5 separate regions of the Homo sapiens genome follow, and regions 2, 3, 4 and 5 are each linked to region 1. The links are contacts of gene promoters, found by promoter capture Hi-C in blood cells and fetal thymus (Javierre and others, 2016). All regions are on one chromosome and are shown on one strand. Each heading gives the region's core, a stretch centred on a gene start or on the middle of the fragment in contact. The rest is flanking DNA. Distances are from core to core; before and after follow the strand shown.

Region 1 (2,855 bases), core at 220-2,719:
AATCAGATGCACAGTTCACCCACAAACATAAATACCTATGAAAAAGAAATATAATTTCTTTTAGACTCACCCAGAACTTGCAAGCTTTAAGTACATGGTCTGTGAAGTCAGGAGAGGAACTATACTATTGGCTGAAATCTAATCTTTAACTTAATTGGCCAGGAAGACAAATAGCAGGATTAAAACACACGAATAATAGTAATAATACCTATTACTTGTTTAGAGCTGGGCACTGGGCTAAGTGATTTATGTTTTATTTTATTTAAAACTCAGACAAGCCCATAAAGTAGAAACAGCTCTCCCTATGATGAGGATGAGAAAACGAGGCTTCGAGAAATTACTGTAAAGAAATTCCCCAAGGTCAAACAGCTTATAGGAAACAGAACTCAGACTAAGACAAGTTTATTGAACCCTATTTTTCTATAATTTTAACCCATCCTTTATACATACAATTGCATAGTTCTGCAAATATGCCTAAAATTGCAAAATGTAACTGATTAAAGTCTTCAGCAGAAATTTTATAATAGAAAATTTTAATATTTCTCTGTGAATTAGTGACTTTATGTGTTTCTATTCCCCACTATTTCTACTTCTCTTTTTAAAGACATAGAAATATATGTATGTATAAACTTTTTAAAAGCTATGCACACACACACACAAACAACCTGTTTGTGATTGTGTATATGAGCTGTGAATAATCTTCTGATGCCCCCTCCCCCCCACCCTTAGGGTCTCTTTCACTCACATTGTCTATATATTTTCCAATTTTTATCTTTCTCTTTCCTAACTGATCTCTCTTTTATAGGCCATAATATGAAGCTAAATTATATTCTTATTTATCGTGGTCATCTAAAGGAGTGTTTGCTTTCTGTTCCAGGTTTTTTTAATGAGACTAAATTAACTTTTATATTTTGTGGGTTTGCAGGCTTAGTCTGCTTTTATAGTATATTATTTGTGTCCACATCTATCACTTTTATTGTAAAGTCTTTACTGGGCAGGGAAAGCGCCTTTCCTATCTTTGTATGTTCCACAAGACTTAACACAGAGCTTGTGATAAACATGAATAAACGAAATCAAGTAATTAAGGACTCAAAAGCCTGGGCCTGGCAGTGTTTCCATAGCAATTGGTAGCAGGAAGCGACGAGGCTGAGAATCACAGACCATCTTCCATAAACTTGATTCTGTCTCCAATTTTGGTCGCAAGTTGCTTGTAGGCCCACCAGACACAGCTGAGGGGTGGGAGGGGGCATGCGGAGGGGCGGACACTGAGCTGAAACCTATTTTACCTCAGCGAGTTTGGATCCAGGAGCCTTTCCAACCTATCGTTCGGGAAGGCGTTGTGGGAAAAGTGGGCGGAGGTGCCAATCGATCCTCCAGTCTCGGCTCTATCCTCCCCCAGCCCGGTTCCCGGTCATCTCAGGGACCGTCTGGTAGCTGATCCCGGAACGCAGCTGGCCAACGGATAAGTGCGGGGCACCCGCCACCCGCGCGGACCCAGGAGCACCTCCCCTACCGCATCCCCCTCCTCCCCACCCCCAGGTTCCCTCGGCTCGCGGCCCTCCGCGTCCCGGGCTCCCGCCCCAGAACCTGTGGGCAGATGTTTCCTCCACGCAGTACCCTCCCGGGGCTCTGCCTCCAGGCTCGCGTCCCAGCACCCTAGGCAGAGGTTTCCCCCACTCTGTCCTCTCCCGGGGCTCTACCTCCAAGCTCCCGTCCCTGCCCCTGGGCACAGCTTTCCCCTACTCTGCCCTCTCCAGGAGCGCTATCTCCAGGCTCCCACCCCAACCCCCCGGGCAGAGGTTTCCCCCATGGCCCCCCTTCCGGGGCTCTACCCCAGGTTCCGGTCCCTCACTCCCGAACACTCCGGGTGCCCTCACCCAGCCAACCCTTGACGCGCTTCCACATACCACGTGATCCACACAGCTCACTTTGATCTCTCGGGGTGACCAAGCTTAAGTTTCCTTATCTGAAAAGTAGGGACACTAGTCTCCATCTCGTTTACTCGGGATGGGACAAGACGACCAAAAAAGAGAGGATTCCTCATCAGGTTTATTACTCGTTGCCATTCTTGCAATGATTACCGCCCCCGTTGCTGTGGTTGGGGGAGGCGAGCAAAGGGCAGCGGCTGCGAGCGCCCGCCCCCGCCCCACCCTCCCAGCCCCGGACAGCGCAGGCTGCGGCTTTTCGTCCTCCACTGAGTCCTGCCGGTGGCCCGAGCCCGGTGGCCTCCCGGCGACCCTCGGCGCGAGGCGACATGGCAAGCGGCCACAGCCTCCTGCTGGAGAACGCGCAGCAAGTGGTGCTGGTGTGCGCCCGCGGCGAGCGCTTCCTGGCGCGGGATGCGCTGCGCAGCCTGGCGGTGCTGGAAGGCGCCAGCCTGGTGGTGGGCAAGTAAGTGGCCGGGCGCGCAGGGTGGGGACCGCCACGGGCGGAGCTGGCCGCTCTTCCTCTCACTGTGCACTCTGGAGGGAAACAACGCCGTGAAAGCGTCCCTGCACAGAGATACACGGGCAAGCCAGCCTTTGGGGTACCTGTTGCTAACACGCTCTGCTGCTTGGGGTTGTCATTCCGTCCAAAGAGCTCAGAGAGGAACACCCCATTGGAACGCATCAGGGTCCTGCCTCTGCTGGTAAAATATCACTGTCCAACCATCAGAAGGGGTTGAGGTCCTCCCCAGTGCTTCTTAAAGGGAGGCCAGAAGACCACCTTTGTCAGGGTGGCCTGTGGTTATTTTATTCTTACGGCAGATTTCTGATTCCACCTGCGTCCCCCACTCCCTATCCCTAGAATTTTAGAATCAGCATCACTGGGGCTGGAGTTCTGAGACCTGAATTTTTCAAAAGTACCTTTCACAT
Region 2 (2,855 bases), core at 124-2,623, 870 kb before region 1:
GCAAAGGTTTAAGCATCGTTTGCCAAAGGTGGGCATTAGGGGAGGTTTTGAGTCAACGTTTTAGATTTGAGTAATAAATAACCCTCTGGGTCTTAGGCATATCTGTTTCTAATTTCTGGAAAACTGGGCTCTGGGGTAGAGTCCAATCATATTTAAACTTTTTTTTTTTTGTATTACACTTTAAGTTCTAGAGTACATGTACACAACGTGCAGGTTCGTTACATATGTATACATGTGCCATGTTGGTGTGCTGCACCCATTAACTCGTCATTTACATTAGTAAGCTTTATATATAATGACAAGCTGAGGCCGACTCATGCAAATGGTAAGGCAAAGTTTCACTTATAAACTGTTGTGAGTAAAGAGACATAATGGCTAAACAGGGCAAGAATATAATCACTAGAGACTGGGCACGGTAGCTCACGCCTGTAATCCCAGCAAGTTGGGAGGCCGAGGCGGACGGATCACTTGAGCCCGGTTGTTTGAGGCCAGCCTGGCCAACATGGCGAAAACCCGTCTCTACAAAAAAATTAGCCAGTCCTGGTGGCGCGTGCCTGTCGTCCCAATTACTTGGAGGCTGAGGTGGGAGGATCACCTGAGTCAAGACGGCAGTGAGCCAAGATCACACCACCGCACTCCAGCCTGGGTGACACAATGAGTCTTTCTCTCTCTCTCTATATATACACACACACATATATATGTATATTCCACATCCTCTCTATAATATATATATTATTATATATTGAGGATTATCCTCAATGGCCGTTTTTTGTCTGTTTTGCTCAGTGATGTATTACCAAGCACATAGGACAATGCCTGCTATTCAATAATGATGTATGAAATGAAAGCCAGGCAAGTGGCTGCTGGGAGGCCAAGGAAAGATCACTTGGGGCCAGCAGTTGGAGACCGGCTTGGGCAAGATAACAAAACCCTGCCTCCACAAAAAAAATTTTTCAAATTGTGAAATGAAGAGACATTGGTGGAACATCGCATTCTGACAGTGGCCACCTGTAGTGGCAAGGTGTGGCAGGAATAACTGCCCTGTGTGCAAAGTACTCTGCGCTTTAGATTTTGAAGCATTCTTGAAATTTCTAGTTTTTTTTTAAATCTCCTTTGTTTTGTCATGAAATTTCTATTTTATCTAGCTTAGGTCGGCACTGTAGGAAAGCAGCCACAAACTCAGGGCAGAAATCCAAGGAAGGAAAAACAAACGTTTGCTGGGAATGAGAACATCTCTGTTATTTCTCTCTGGAACTAGGCAGACGGACAGAGATCAAGGCATGAAACAATCCCTAACAAGTAAAAATATGCTTTATCCCTCATTAAAAATCCACCTCTGCTGAGCACAGTGGCTTCTGCCCCCAGAGCCTTGGGAGGCTGAGGTAGGAGGCTTGCTTGATGCCAGGAGTTTGAGACCAGCCTGGGCAACATAGTGAGACTCCATCTCTTAAAAAAAAAAGAAAAAAAAAAGGCATGGTGGTGCAGGCCTGTATTCCTAGTTACTGAGGAGGCTGAGGTGGGAGGATTGCTTAAGCCCAGGAGTCTGGTCCAGTGTTGGCACCATTGCATTCCAGCCTGGGCGAGAGTGAAACTTTTTTTTTTTTCCAACCTCTACCTTTTAGCATTATTTGTTGTGTATTTGGTTTGGTTTTAAGGGAGACCCCTGCCAATACCATAAGCTGGTCCCAAAGGTGAAAATTATGAAAGTATAGTCACGTCAGGGATATGTTCTGAGAAATGAGTCCTTAGGCAATTTCATTTTACTCTCATCATAGAGCGTACTTATACAAACCTAGATGGTCTAGCCTAGACACACCTAGGCTGTATGTTGTAGTCTGTTGCTCTTAAGTCACAAACCTAGGACAAACCCGTACAGCATGTTACTGAATACTGTAGGCAGTTGTAACATAATGGTAGGTATTTGTGTATCTAAATATATATAAACATAGAAAAAGTAAACTAAGTCCTTTTAAAAAAAAAGTGCAGTAAAAATAGGGGATTATAATCTTATGCAACCATTATTGTATATGTGGTCTGTCCTTGACTGAAATATTGTTATGCAGTGCATGACTGCACTATAGGCCTAATGGATACAGGCAATCTGAGACCTCTTCACTATTCTTGGTGGAGAATATGTATGCCTATAGTGATGCTTGTGGTTACCCCTTATCACCCAATTAATTCACTTAAGTCACAATAAGTTGACTTGTTAAAACTTGGAAGTAGAAGCCATTTTAGGAACATCATTTGTAGGTGAAGAAGCGTTTCCATTAATTATGCTTCAGGAAAAGAGGTAAATGAAGTTTATTTATTTTTGAGACAGAGTCTCACTCTGTTGCCCAGGCTGGAGTGCAGTGGCTTGATCTCAGCTCACTGCAACCTCCGCCACCTGGGTTCAAGAGGTTCTTGTGCCTCAGCCTCCCGAGTAGCTGGGATTACAGGCGCACACCACAATGTCTGGCTAAGCTTTTTGTATTTTTAGTAGAGACAGGGTTTCACCATGTTGGCCAGGCTGGTCTCGAACTCCTCACCTCAAGTGATCCGCTCGCCTTGGCCTCCCCAAAGTGCTGGGATTACAGGCATGAGCCACCGTGCCCAGCCGAAGTTCATCTTTAAATGTGTGACTCTAGCCGAAGTTCATCTTTAAATCTATGATGCTGGCCAGGCTCAGTAGCTCACGCCTGTAATCCTAGCACTTGGGGAGGTTGAGGCGGGTGGATCACCTGAGGTCAGAGTTTGAGACCAGCCTGGCCAACATGGTGAAATCCCGTCTCTACTAAAAATACAAAAAATTAGCCGGGCATGGTGGTGCGCACCTGTCATCCCAGCTCCTCAGGAGGCTGAGGCAGGAGAAT
Region 3 (2,855 bases), core at 118-2,617, 580 kb after region 1:
CTTTCCTTTTTAAAATTTCATAATTCCTAAAGTCACCTTATTCACAGTTTATTAGAGAGTTTAGTGGTTCTTAAATAAAATGATAGACTGGATAAAAGGAGTCAGCATTAACCTAGAGCTTAATTCACAGATTAAATCAAATGCCTGGGAGAACAAAACATTGTCTTTATACATTTTAATCACTATATTCTGATTTATGAATTAAATTTATTTTAATCACATGTAGGCATTTGCTCGGCGTGCTTTGGCTAAAATTGATGAGTTAAGGCAACTGGAATTAATGAGTTCCTCAAAATCCCAGGAAGAATCGCGAAGATATTTTCGAGAGGCCACAATGAAGGTATAAAAATTTCATGAAATAAAAGAAATTTACCACACTCTACAGCTGATTAAATACTTAGTAGTTGGGAAGTGCATCTCATTGTTATTTCATGTATAATTCTGCTTTTTGAGGCAGATGGCAGTGATGATCTTCAAAAGAGGAGTCTTTGAATCTAGAAGAAAAAACAAAGCTGTCTTTAGACCTAAGATAAGAATTAACCTAAGGGAAGTACAAACTGTAAGTCTAAACATGTCTTCTCTCTTTAAGACTCTTTTTGCAGTATATTTGTATTATGCTCCTATGTCTTTCAAGCCTAGTCACTCATTATTAAATTCTGCCCCCAGTTCTCTGCCCTAATGGGTAAATAGAGAGAAGAATGTTTTTCTAGTTTGCACGTAGCCTCGCTTCATCTCTTTCTCAAAGCTTTTGTGTCTTAGCACAATCCCAGTTTTGCAGCCTTAAAGAACAAGAGGCTGAAGAGGAGCCTGTGAAAGATTTCAATGAACTGGCTCTTGCAAATGAATAGGCCTCTGAGTGGTTCTGCACTTGCCTTTGTCTTTGACCACTTAGGGTTAGCTGAGCAGGCGAGCAGGCTTTGAGGCTGTGGAGAAGATGGAGGCACCTTTTCTCATCAGCCTTAGGTTTCACCCTTGGGAATGTTCAGGAGCTAGGTTATCCAGTAGCAACAAACAACACCCGTACCTCAGGTGGCTTAAAACAACAATTTATTGCCTACTGGAGTCATATGTTATTTTAGTTATCAGGGGCTCTGCCTTACAAAAGCTGCTCAGGGCCAGGCTGAAGAGCCGCCTTCATTTCAAACATTGCTGGTCATTTGGCCAGAGGGGATTAAAGAGAGTTCTGGGGGACCTTTCATGGGCATTGATGCTCAACATGGAAGTGACATGAGTCTGTTCTTCTCACATGTCATAACCAGTCACACAGCCCCTCCCAACCACAAGCCTATTTGGCAAACAGTAGTAAAGATGATCACAGGGCAGGGAGTAGGCAAAGTTACACCTGTGGGGCCCTCGGCCCTTTTTCTTCCCCTTGTCTTTTTCTTCTTCTTCTTCCCTTTGCCTTCCTGACTCTTAATATCCCCCAGGGCCCAGTTCTATATCGTTTTGAAGCTCTCCCTGACTGTTCTAGATGGATATACACCCTCTTCTGCGAGCTTCCATGTAGAGATTGAAAATGAATCTGGGGGGAAGGAGGTGAGCAGTTTCTTACAGAAGAGGTGTATCAAATCTCAGAACCTGGAAAGGATTTGGGAAACCATCTGGTTCAGTCCTTTTATATTACAGTTGGGAAAATAAAGCCTGCAATATTTAAATGACTGGCTCAAGGTCACAAAGGCAGCCGCTGGCAGAACCAGAACCAGCATCTCTAAGTCCAGTGCTTGGCCTCTACTCCAATCACTGCTACTCTCTTTCCTCATTTCTTCTTAACACATTTAGGAGTAATCCTTTTTCTTTCTTTTAAATGAATTACTATATTTAAATACAAATAAGTTTTTGGACATGGTACCTTTCCATTGCTACTTAGTGACAATATTGACTACTGAGCCCACAGGTACATTTTATACATCCCTTTTGAGCTATATCCCTTACTAACCAACAGTATATTAATTGGCAAGTATATTAATTAATTTATAGGCAATTCCTTGGATAAGCTTTTAAGCTGCCTGCATCTGGTATTAAGTAGTGATGCTATAGTCTTTGTAAAAGGACAGGGAACAATTTTTTTTTTCTCCCCGGCATTTTTTTTCTCTGAGCAACCAAATTTAAATATCCAAAGTTGCAAGACTGTTGTTACTTAGAATATTATTAGGACTTAACAGTTATCCTGGTAGCAAAACTAAATACATTTTCAAAGAAAAATGTTTAAAATTCCAGATAAAATTACATTAAAAACTAATTTGTATCTGATTTCCCTTAAGATAATTGTTGAATGAAAAGTTCTGGTGATTTTTTTTTTTTAAGAAAAAATTGTAATTGTTTAGTGAGTAGTTGTTTCAGAGGCTAGTCAACACATCCTTTTTATAACGTCATCCTATGTTACCTTGGCATATTTTGCAGAATGTCCTGTTTTCTGTGTATGAAATAATTTTATTATGTTTCTACTAAATAATTTCAATATGCATTGAACATATTTTCTAAAACATTTCTGGGTTTGTATGTAAGTTGTTAACTTATAGTAAATCATTTTGACTCTCAAAAGATTCTTTTAAAGGACTACTAATTCAGACTCCTAATGATTGATTAGTTAGTGATTTATTCAATAAATATTTTTTAAGTACCTGCTATGTGAACAAAATAGATGAGGATTACATTCTAGTGGAGAATTATATCATAAATAAATAAATAATTAAAGCTTGTGATAAATATTAAGAAATAAATAATGATAATGGTGAGGATGAAATGAGTTACATGTAAAGCCCTTAGAATGTTGCTGGCAGGTAGAAAGTAGGTCCTCAGTAAATATTAGCTATCATTGTTTATTTATTTTTTATTAATTCAACAACCATATATTG
Region 4 (2,855 bases), core at 198-2,697, 560 kb after region 1:
AGCATGAATTTGAATGAATAAAAATCCCACTGCTCAGATGCTTTTTATTTGTCCTGATGCAGCTTTAGAGTGTTGACAGATGAAAGAGAGGCAAGTAGCTCACCTCACTCTGCAGTTTTTTCTTTTATTTTCTCTTCTTTGGTTCCCTCTTTCTTCCTCTCTTCCTTCCTCTCTCCCTCCCTCTCCCTTCCTTTCCTTCCTCTCTCCCTCCCTTCCTTTCTCTCTCTCTCTTTCTTTCTTTCTCTTTCTTTCTTTCTCTCTCTCTCCTTCCTTCCTTCTTTCTCGCTTTCTCTCTCTCCTCTTTCTTTCTTTCCCTCCCTCCCTTTATTTTTTCCTTCCTCCTTCCCTCCCTTTCTTTCTCTTTCTTCCTTTCCTTTCCTTTTTTTTCCTTCCTTTCTTTCTCTCTCTCTCTTTCACTTCCTTTCTTCCCCCTTCCTTTCCTTTCCCCTTCTCTTCCCTTTTCTTTTCCTTTCCTTTCCCTTCCCCTTCTTTCCCTTCCTTCCTTCCTGCCTTCCTCCCTCCCTCTCTCCCTTCCCTCCTTCCTTCCTTTCCCTTCCTCCCTTCCTCTCTCCCTCCCTCCCTCCCTCCCTTCCTTCTTTCCTTCCTTCCTTTGTTTCTCTCTCGCTCGCTCGCTCTTCGTTTCTTTTCTTTTTCGAGCCTATGAGGTATCAGAGAAGCAAGACTACTCATCCACCTCTCTAGGTATGTGGGTTACCATGATCTGATGATGCTGAATTTTGGAACCTGGGTTTTGAGTATTTGTAGGTATTACCATGCACAGTGCCATAGTAAATATTCTCATCCTTGTGGTCATGATGGTCCCATCTCACATAGGCTCATTGTGAGGAGAATTAGATGAAATAATGCACATACATTGTATAGTGCAGTGTCTCTCACATACTATGTTTTTGGAAAATGGAGCCAGTAGTAATGGTATAATTGTAATAATCAACCTTGATACTATTAGGAATAATATGAATATTACCTAATAATGATAAGCTAAATGATATTTTGGAACTTTAATCAAGTACTCCTTTTGTTTCAGGAATACAAACTGGCCCTTTTACAATGCTATGGAAGATATCTTCAGCAGTTCAATACCAATTTTGATGAGAATAAAGTGGATGTAACTCAATTCAAAGCTACCTTTTTCCCAAAAGGCTTTAAAGATAAAACTGCTGGACTTACAGTAAGATGAAAGAGCAGCTGAAATAGCTACAATTTATGATTAGCTATACAATGTATCTTTTAGTTGACAGCTTCTAAATGTCTTGTTGGCTTAGCATAGCATCTAGCTGTGTGCTATAAGTTGCTTAATAAATACTTTCAGTGCTGGATAAGAAAGTGAACTTATCAAGCTTTGTAAGGATGCTTTGGAGATTAAGTCACTGCAGTCACTCATTCATGTAGCAGTTGTTATTTAATAACTAATACTTGTAGAGTGCATTTAGTTTATAAAGTGCTTTGGAAAACAAATTTGATAAAGTAATTTTATGAGTTACATACTATTATCCCTATTTTACAGAAGAGAAAAATAAAGCTTATCACATAGTATAAAAAAGCGACTCAAGATTAAACATAAATCTATTGATATAAAATATTTATACTTTATTTCTAGTATACCAGTATTTTGTTAATTACTACCATTGATTCACTGGTTGAGCAGTTTTCATGTGCTGAGTACTCTTCTAAATACATTGTATGAATTATCATCTTGCAGCCTCATTAAAGTCCTAAGAGGTGCCTCTTTTACAGGTTAGGAAATGGAAGTTTATTAGCCCACTTAAAGCAATGGGCAGGGTTGGTGTTTGAACCCTGATCAGTCTGACTCTAAATCTATGTTACTTCAAACTTGAGGACTATTCAAGGGTTTGGGACCCGTATGTGGTTAATAAGCAGAAACTCTTAAGGCATGTTTGGGAGACAATTGAACAGTTCAATTTGGCTGTACCATAGGTACGTGAATGAGAATACTGGGCGATGTAGGTTGGCACCCTGTTAGGGAAAAGGTCTCTCCTACTCCCCTTTTTGTAGCCTTGACCCCCTACCTTCTGCTTTTTGCTTTTCATATTTTGCCAGAATTTATTTTTCTTTCTTCCTCTTTCTTTCTTTTTCTTTCTTTCTTTCTTTCTTTCCCTTTCTTTCTTCTTTCTTTTTCTTTCTTTCTTTCTTTCTTTTTCTTTTCTTCTCTTTCTTTCTTTTCTTCCTTTCTTCCTTTCTTTCCTTTCTTTTCTTCTTTTTTTTTTGGAGTCTTGTTCTGTTGCCCAGGCTGGAGTGCAGTGGCATGATCTCAGTTCACTGCAACCTCTGCCTCCTAGGTTCAAGCAATTCTCCTGCCTCAGCCTCCTTAGTAGCTGGGATTACAGGCGCATACCACCATGCCCGGCTAATTTTTGTATTTTTAGTAGAGATGGGGTTTCACCATGTCGGTCAGGGTGGTCTCAAACTCCTGACCTCATGATCCACTCTCCTTGGCCTCCCAAAGTGCTGGGATTACAGGTGTGAGCCACCGTGCCTGGCCAATTAATTTCTAAAGTAGAAACCTGTCATTTTGTTCCACTACCCATTGACTTTGCCTTTTGGCTAAAGTCCAAATTCCTTGGAATACATGGAATGCTCTCTCTCTTTTTCTGAGCCTGGGTCACCCCTATAATAGCCTCACTTTTTTTTTTTTTTTTTTGAGACCGAGGCTCACTCTGTTGCCCAAGCTGGAGTGCAGTGGTGCAGTCTTGGCTCACTGCAGCCTCCGCCTCCTGGGCCCAAGTGATTCACCTGCCTCAACTTCCTGAGTAGCTGGGATTACAGGTGCGCACCATCATGCCTGGCTAATTTTTGTATTTTTAGTAGAGATGGGG
Region 5 (2,855 bases), core at 252-2,751, 540 kb after region 1:
CTCTGTGCCAGGTGCCAGATTTGGGTGCTAGGTTACCATGGGAAGAAGGTAAATGCTTGTTGCAAGGGTCTTTCTGTGAGTGAGAGGCATTTACGGTCTGGGGCTAAAACATCATCTCCTCTAGAATTCTCTGTTCTCTTTCCAGTTCCGAGATTCATCTTAGAACTCCCACAGTCTTCCTTCCCCCTTGCCCTCCCCTCCCCTGCCCCTCCCCTCCTCTCTCTTTTTTTTGAGAAAAGATCTTGCTCTGTAGCTCAGACTGGAATACAGTGGGGTGATTATAGCTCACTGCAGCCTCAAACTCCTGGCTCAAGTGATCTTTCTGCCTCAGCCTCTTGAGTAGCTGGGATTTCAGGTGCATGTGACCATGCCAGGCTAATTAAAAAAATTTTTTTTAAAAATCAGAGACAGGGTCTCACTGTGTTGCCCAGGCTGGTCTCAAACTCCTGGCCTCAAGCAATCCACCCACCTCGGCCTCCCAAAGTATTGAGATCACAGGCGTGAGTGACCACACCTGGCGGTCCCACATTTCTTAAAACCTTTCTCACAGCACATTCCACAGCATGCCTTTTCTTTTCTTTTTTCTTTTCTTTTCTTTTCCTTTCCTTTCCTTTCTTTTCTCTTTTCTTTTCTTTCTTTCTTTCTTTCTTTCTTTCTTTCTTTCTTTCTTTCTTTCTTTCTTTTCTCTCTTTCTTTCTTTTTCTTTTCCTTTTTTTTTTTTTTCTTTGAGATGGAGTCTCACTTTGTCACCCAGCCTGGGGTGCAGTGGCGCGATCTCGGCTCACTGCAACCTCGCCTCCTGGGATCAAGTGATTCTCCTGCCTCAGCCTCCTAAGTAGCAGGGATTACAGGCACATGCCACCATGTCCAGCTAATCCATAGCATGCCTTTTAATTATGATTATTTGAGTTTGTGTTATCTGCTTCCTGTAGGGAATGTATGGGTTCATCTATGCCTTGTATGGACACTAACAAAATGGTTGCATTTATCTGAATAAATGGATGAAGAAGTTTTAAAAAGTCTACATATTAGGTAGATCATATATATTGTATCTATTTGGGATAGTCCAAATGATTAACAACTAAATTGAGAATTGAAAGAGCACTAACCTTGCATATTCTTTAACAGTCAGTAGCTTTAGATAAAAAAGACTTTCGAATGGGCAAAAAGCTTCCCTGCAGCCTGCGAAGATGTTAATTATAAGAAATAGCAATTTACATTATTTATAAGGAAGCTATTTACAGTACTTAGGCTTGTCAGACACAGTAGTTGCACAGCTCCATTCTTTCATTACAGTGAGAAGAATAAAGCAAAGTGACAAGGAAAGAGAAAGATATTATAATGGCTGCATCTAATTACAAGGAAGATAACACCTCTAAAATGTTAAAAATGCCTCAAATTCAATTTATTTATTTTATTTTTATTATTTATTTATTTATTTATTTATTTATTTATTTATTTATTTTGAGATGGGGTCTAGCTCTGTCGCTAAGGCTGGAGTGAAGTGGCATGATCTCGGCTCACTGCAACCTCCACCTCCCGGGTTCAGGCGATTCTCCTGCTTCAGTCTCCTGAGTAGCTGGGATTACAGGTGTCCGACACCACGCCCAGCTAATATTTGTGTTTTCAGTAGAGACGGGATTTCAACATGTTGGCTAGGCTGGTCTCGAACTCCTGACGTCAAGTGATTCGCCCACCTGAGCCTCCTGAAGTGCTGGGATTACAGGCGTGAGCCACGACACCCAGCCAATTTAATTTAAACTAAATAAAATGTAAACTTCCATCTTATCATAATGATGATTCAGAATATAACACCCATTTAAATATTCAGACAAGCTTCCAAAAACTACTGCAAGTTAAGCATTGTTAGCTTTAGTGTGTGCAAGGGGGAAAGTGACTAAGATGCAATGTTTCATAATTCAGGTATTTGAATTTGCTTAGTCACATTTTCTTTTACCAGTGACTTTGAAATACAAGTGTCTGCCCTATGATAAAGTTTGTTTGTGACAGTAGCCAGATTAGAAGGAAAAACACCACTTTGTCTTTTATTTTTTTCTTTCCTTTTCTGTGACCACTTTAATTAATTTTATCCTGCTGTTTCACTTTCATCAATATAATAGATAGCACTCAGTGGCAAATTACACCAGTTTTTGATCTGCAATGGACAAGTCTGCCATGTTAGAGCAAGAAAAAGATGAGAAAAAAGAGAATTTACCAAGCCGACTTTTAAAAATGTCTATTAATATTTTTGTAAATGCCCAGTGATTATTTCTCTAGGACTACATTCTTTAAAGCCTTACAATTTTTGTTGTTCACTTAGAGAACAAGATAAAATCTTTGTTGATCAAAGGATGATATCTACATCCTGATTAGAGAATTGGACTCCTACAGTGAGGTGTCATTGCGTCTCACTGCTTGCCAGGAAGTTTCTCTGGCTATAATTAACTGTGCCGATGAGCAAAATTATTTTCCTTCAAAGAATATTAGGGTACAGTAGACATGACATATTAGGCCAGCCTCACAAATTAGCACAGGCCCACAGAGCCTGCATAAAATTAGGTCAGACTTGAAAGATATCAGGCTGTGGTCCAATAAGCTTCTTAGTCTGAAATGGAAAATTGGGTTCACAGGGTGTTAGGGTCACTGTCTTTATTTAAGTGTGATAGAACTGGTAACAATTTTCAGGGTTAAAGACTGATTTTTCTAAGCCACCAAATATTTCTGGTTCTTCTCTTAGATAATTTATTGTGTTGCATAATTTATAGAAAAGAAGGTTCTCCATTTTCTCAATACTCATACTTTAATAAATTTAACTCTGACTTTTGCCTATAATACACAGGCTAAGAATAAACTCC

What was found. Contacts are between HindIII fragments. The CHiCAGO score rates a contact against its expected background, and 5 or more counts as called.
Region 2: a contact is called between a fragment that was not itself captured here and the fragment with the promoter of CCDC38 in region 1, in 1 of 17 cell types (fetal thymus). The highest score is 5.8, in fetal thymus.
Region 3: a contact is called between a fragment that was not itself captured here and the fragment with the promoter of CCDC38 in region 1, in 8 of 17 cell types (activated CD4 T cells, fetal thymus, total CD8 T cells and 5 more). The highest score is 12.1, in activated CD4 T cells.
Region 4: a fragment that was not itself captured here is called in contact with the fragment with the promoter of CCDC38 in region 1 in 8 of 17 cell types (fetal thymus, activated CD4 T cells, naive CD8 T cells and 5 more); the score reaches 9.4 in fetal thymus.
Region 5: a fragment that was not itself captured here is called in contact with the fragment with the promoter of CCDC38 in region 1 in 6 of 17 cell types (fetal thymus, activated CD4 T cells, non-activated CD4 T cells and 3 more); the score reaches 9.5 in fetal thymus.

The regions. Positions count from the first base shown.
Region 1 is chr12:95,941,145-95,943,999 of GRCh38, forward strand. It overlaps CCDC38 (coiled-coil domain containing 38), which reads right to left and starts at 1,470. Exons shown (of 16, transcript NM_182496.3): 1 at 1,287-1,470. AMDHD1 (amidohydrolase domain containing 1) reads left to right here and starts at 2,187. Exons shown (of 9, transcript NM_152435.3): 1 at 2,187-2,391. The coding sequence starts at 2,255. The HindIII fragment of the contact is 1,867 bases long and covers 83-1,949 here.
Region 2 is chr12:95,073,780-95,076,634 of GRCh38, forward strand. No RefSeq gene overlaps it. Among named protein-coding and RNA genes, the nearest start is that of NR2C1, 1.6 kb to the left of the region's middle. The HindIII fragment of the contact is 2,182 bases long and covers 283-2,464 here.
Region 3 is chr12:96,521,631-96,524,485 of GRCh38, forward strand. It overlaps CFAP54 (cilia and flagella associated protein 54), which reads left to right. Exons shown (of 68, transcript NM_001306084.2): 7 at 227-340; 8 at 458-559. Among named protein-coding and RNA genes, the nearest start is that of CFAP54, 33 kb to the left of the region's middle. RefSeq lists enhancers at 502-1,002, 1,003-1,503 and a silencer at 661-955. The HindIII fragment of the contact is 1,249 bases long and covers 744-1,992 here.
Region 4 is chr12:96,502,841-96,505,695 of GRCh38, forward strand. CFAP54 (cilia and flagella associated protein 54) reads left to right here. Exons shown (of 68, transcript NM_001306084.2): 3 at 1,046-1,189. Among named protein-coding and RNA genes, the nearest start is that of CFAP54, 15 kb to the left of the region's middle. The HindIII fragment of the contact is 182 bases long and covers 1,357-1,538 here.
Region 5 is chr12:96,485,510-96,488,364 of GRCh38, forward strand. No RefSeq gene overlaps it. Among named protein-coding and RNA genes, the nearest start is that of CFAP54, 2.6 kb to the right of the region's middle. RefSeq lists an enhancer at 1-32. The HindIII fragment of the contact is 666 bases long and covers 1,169-1,834 here.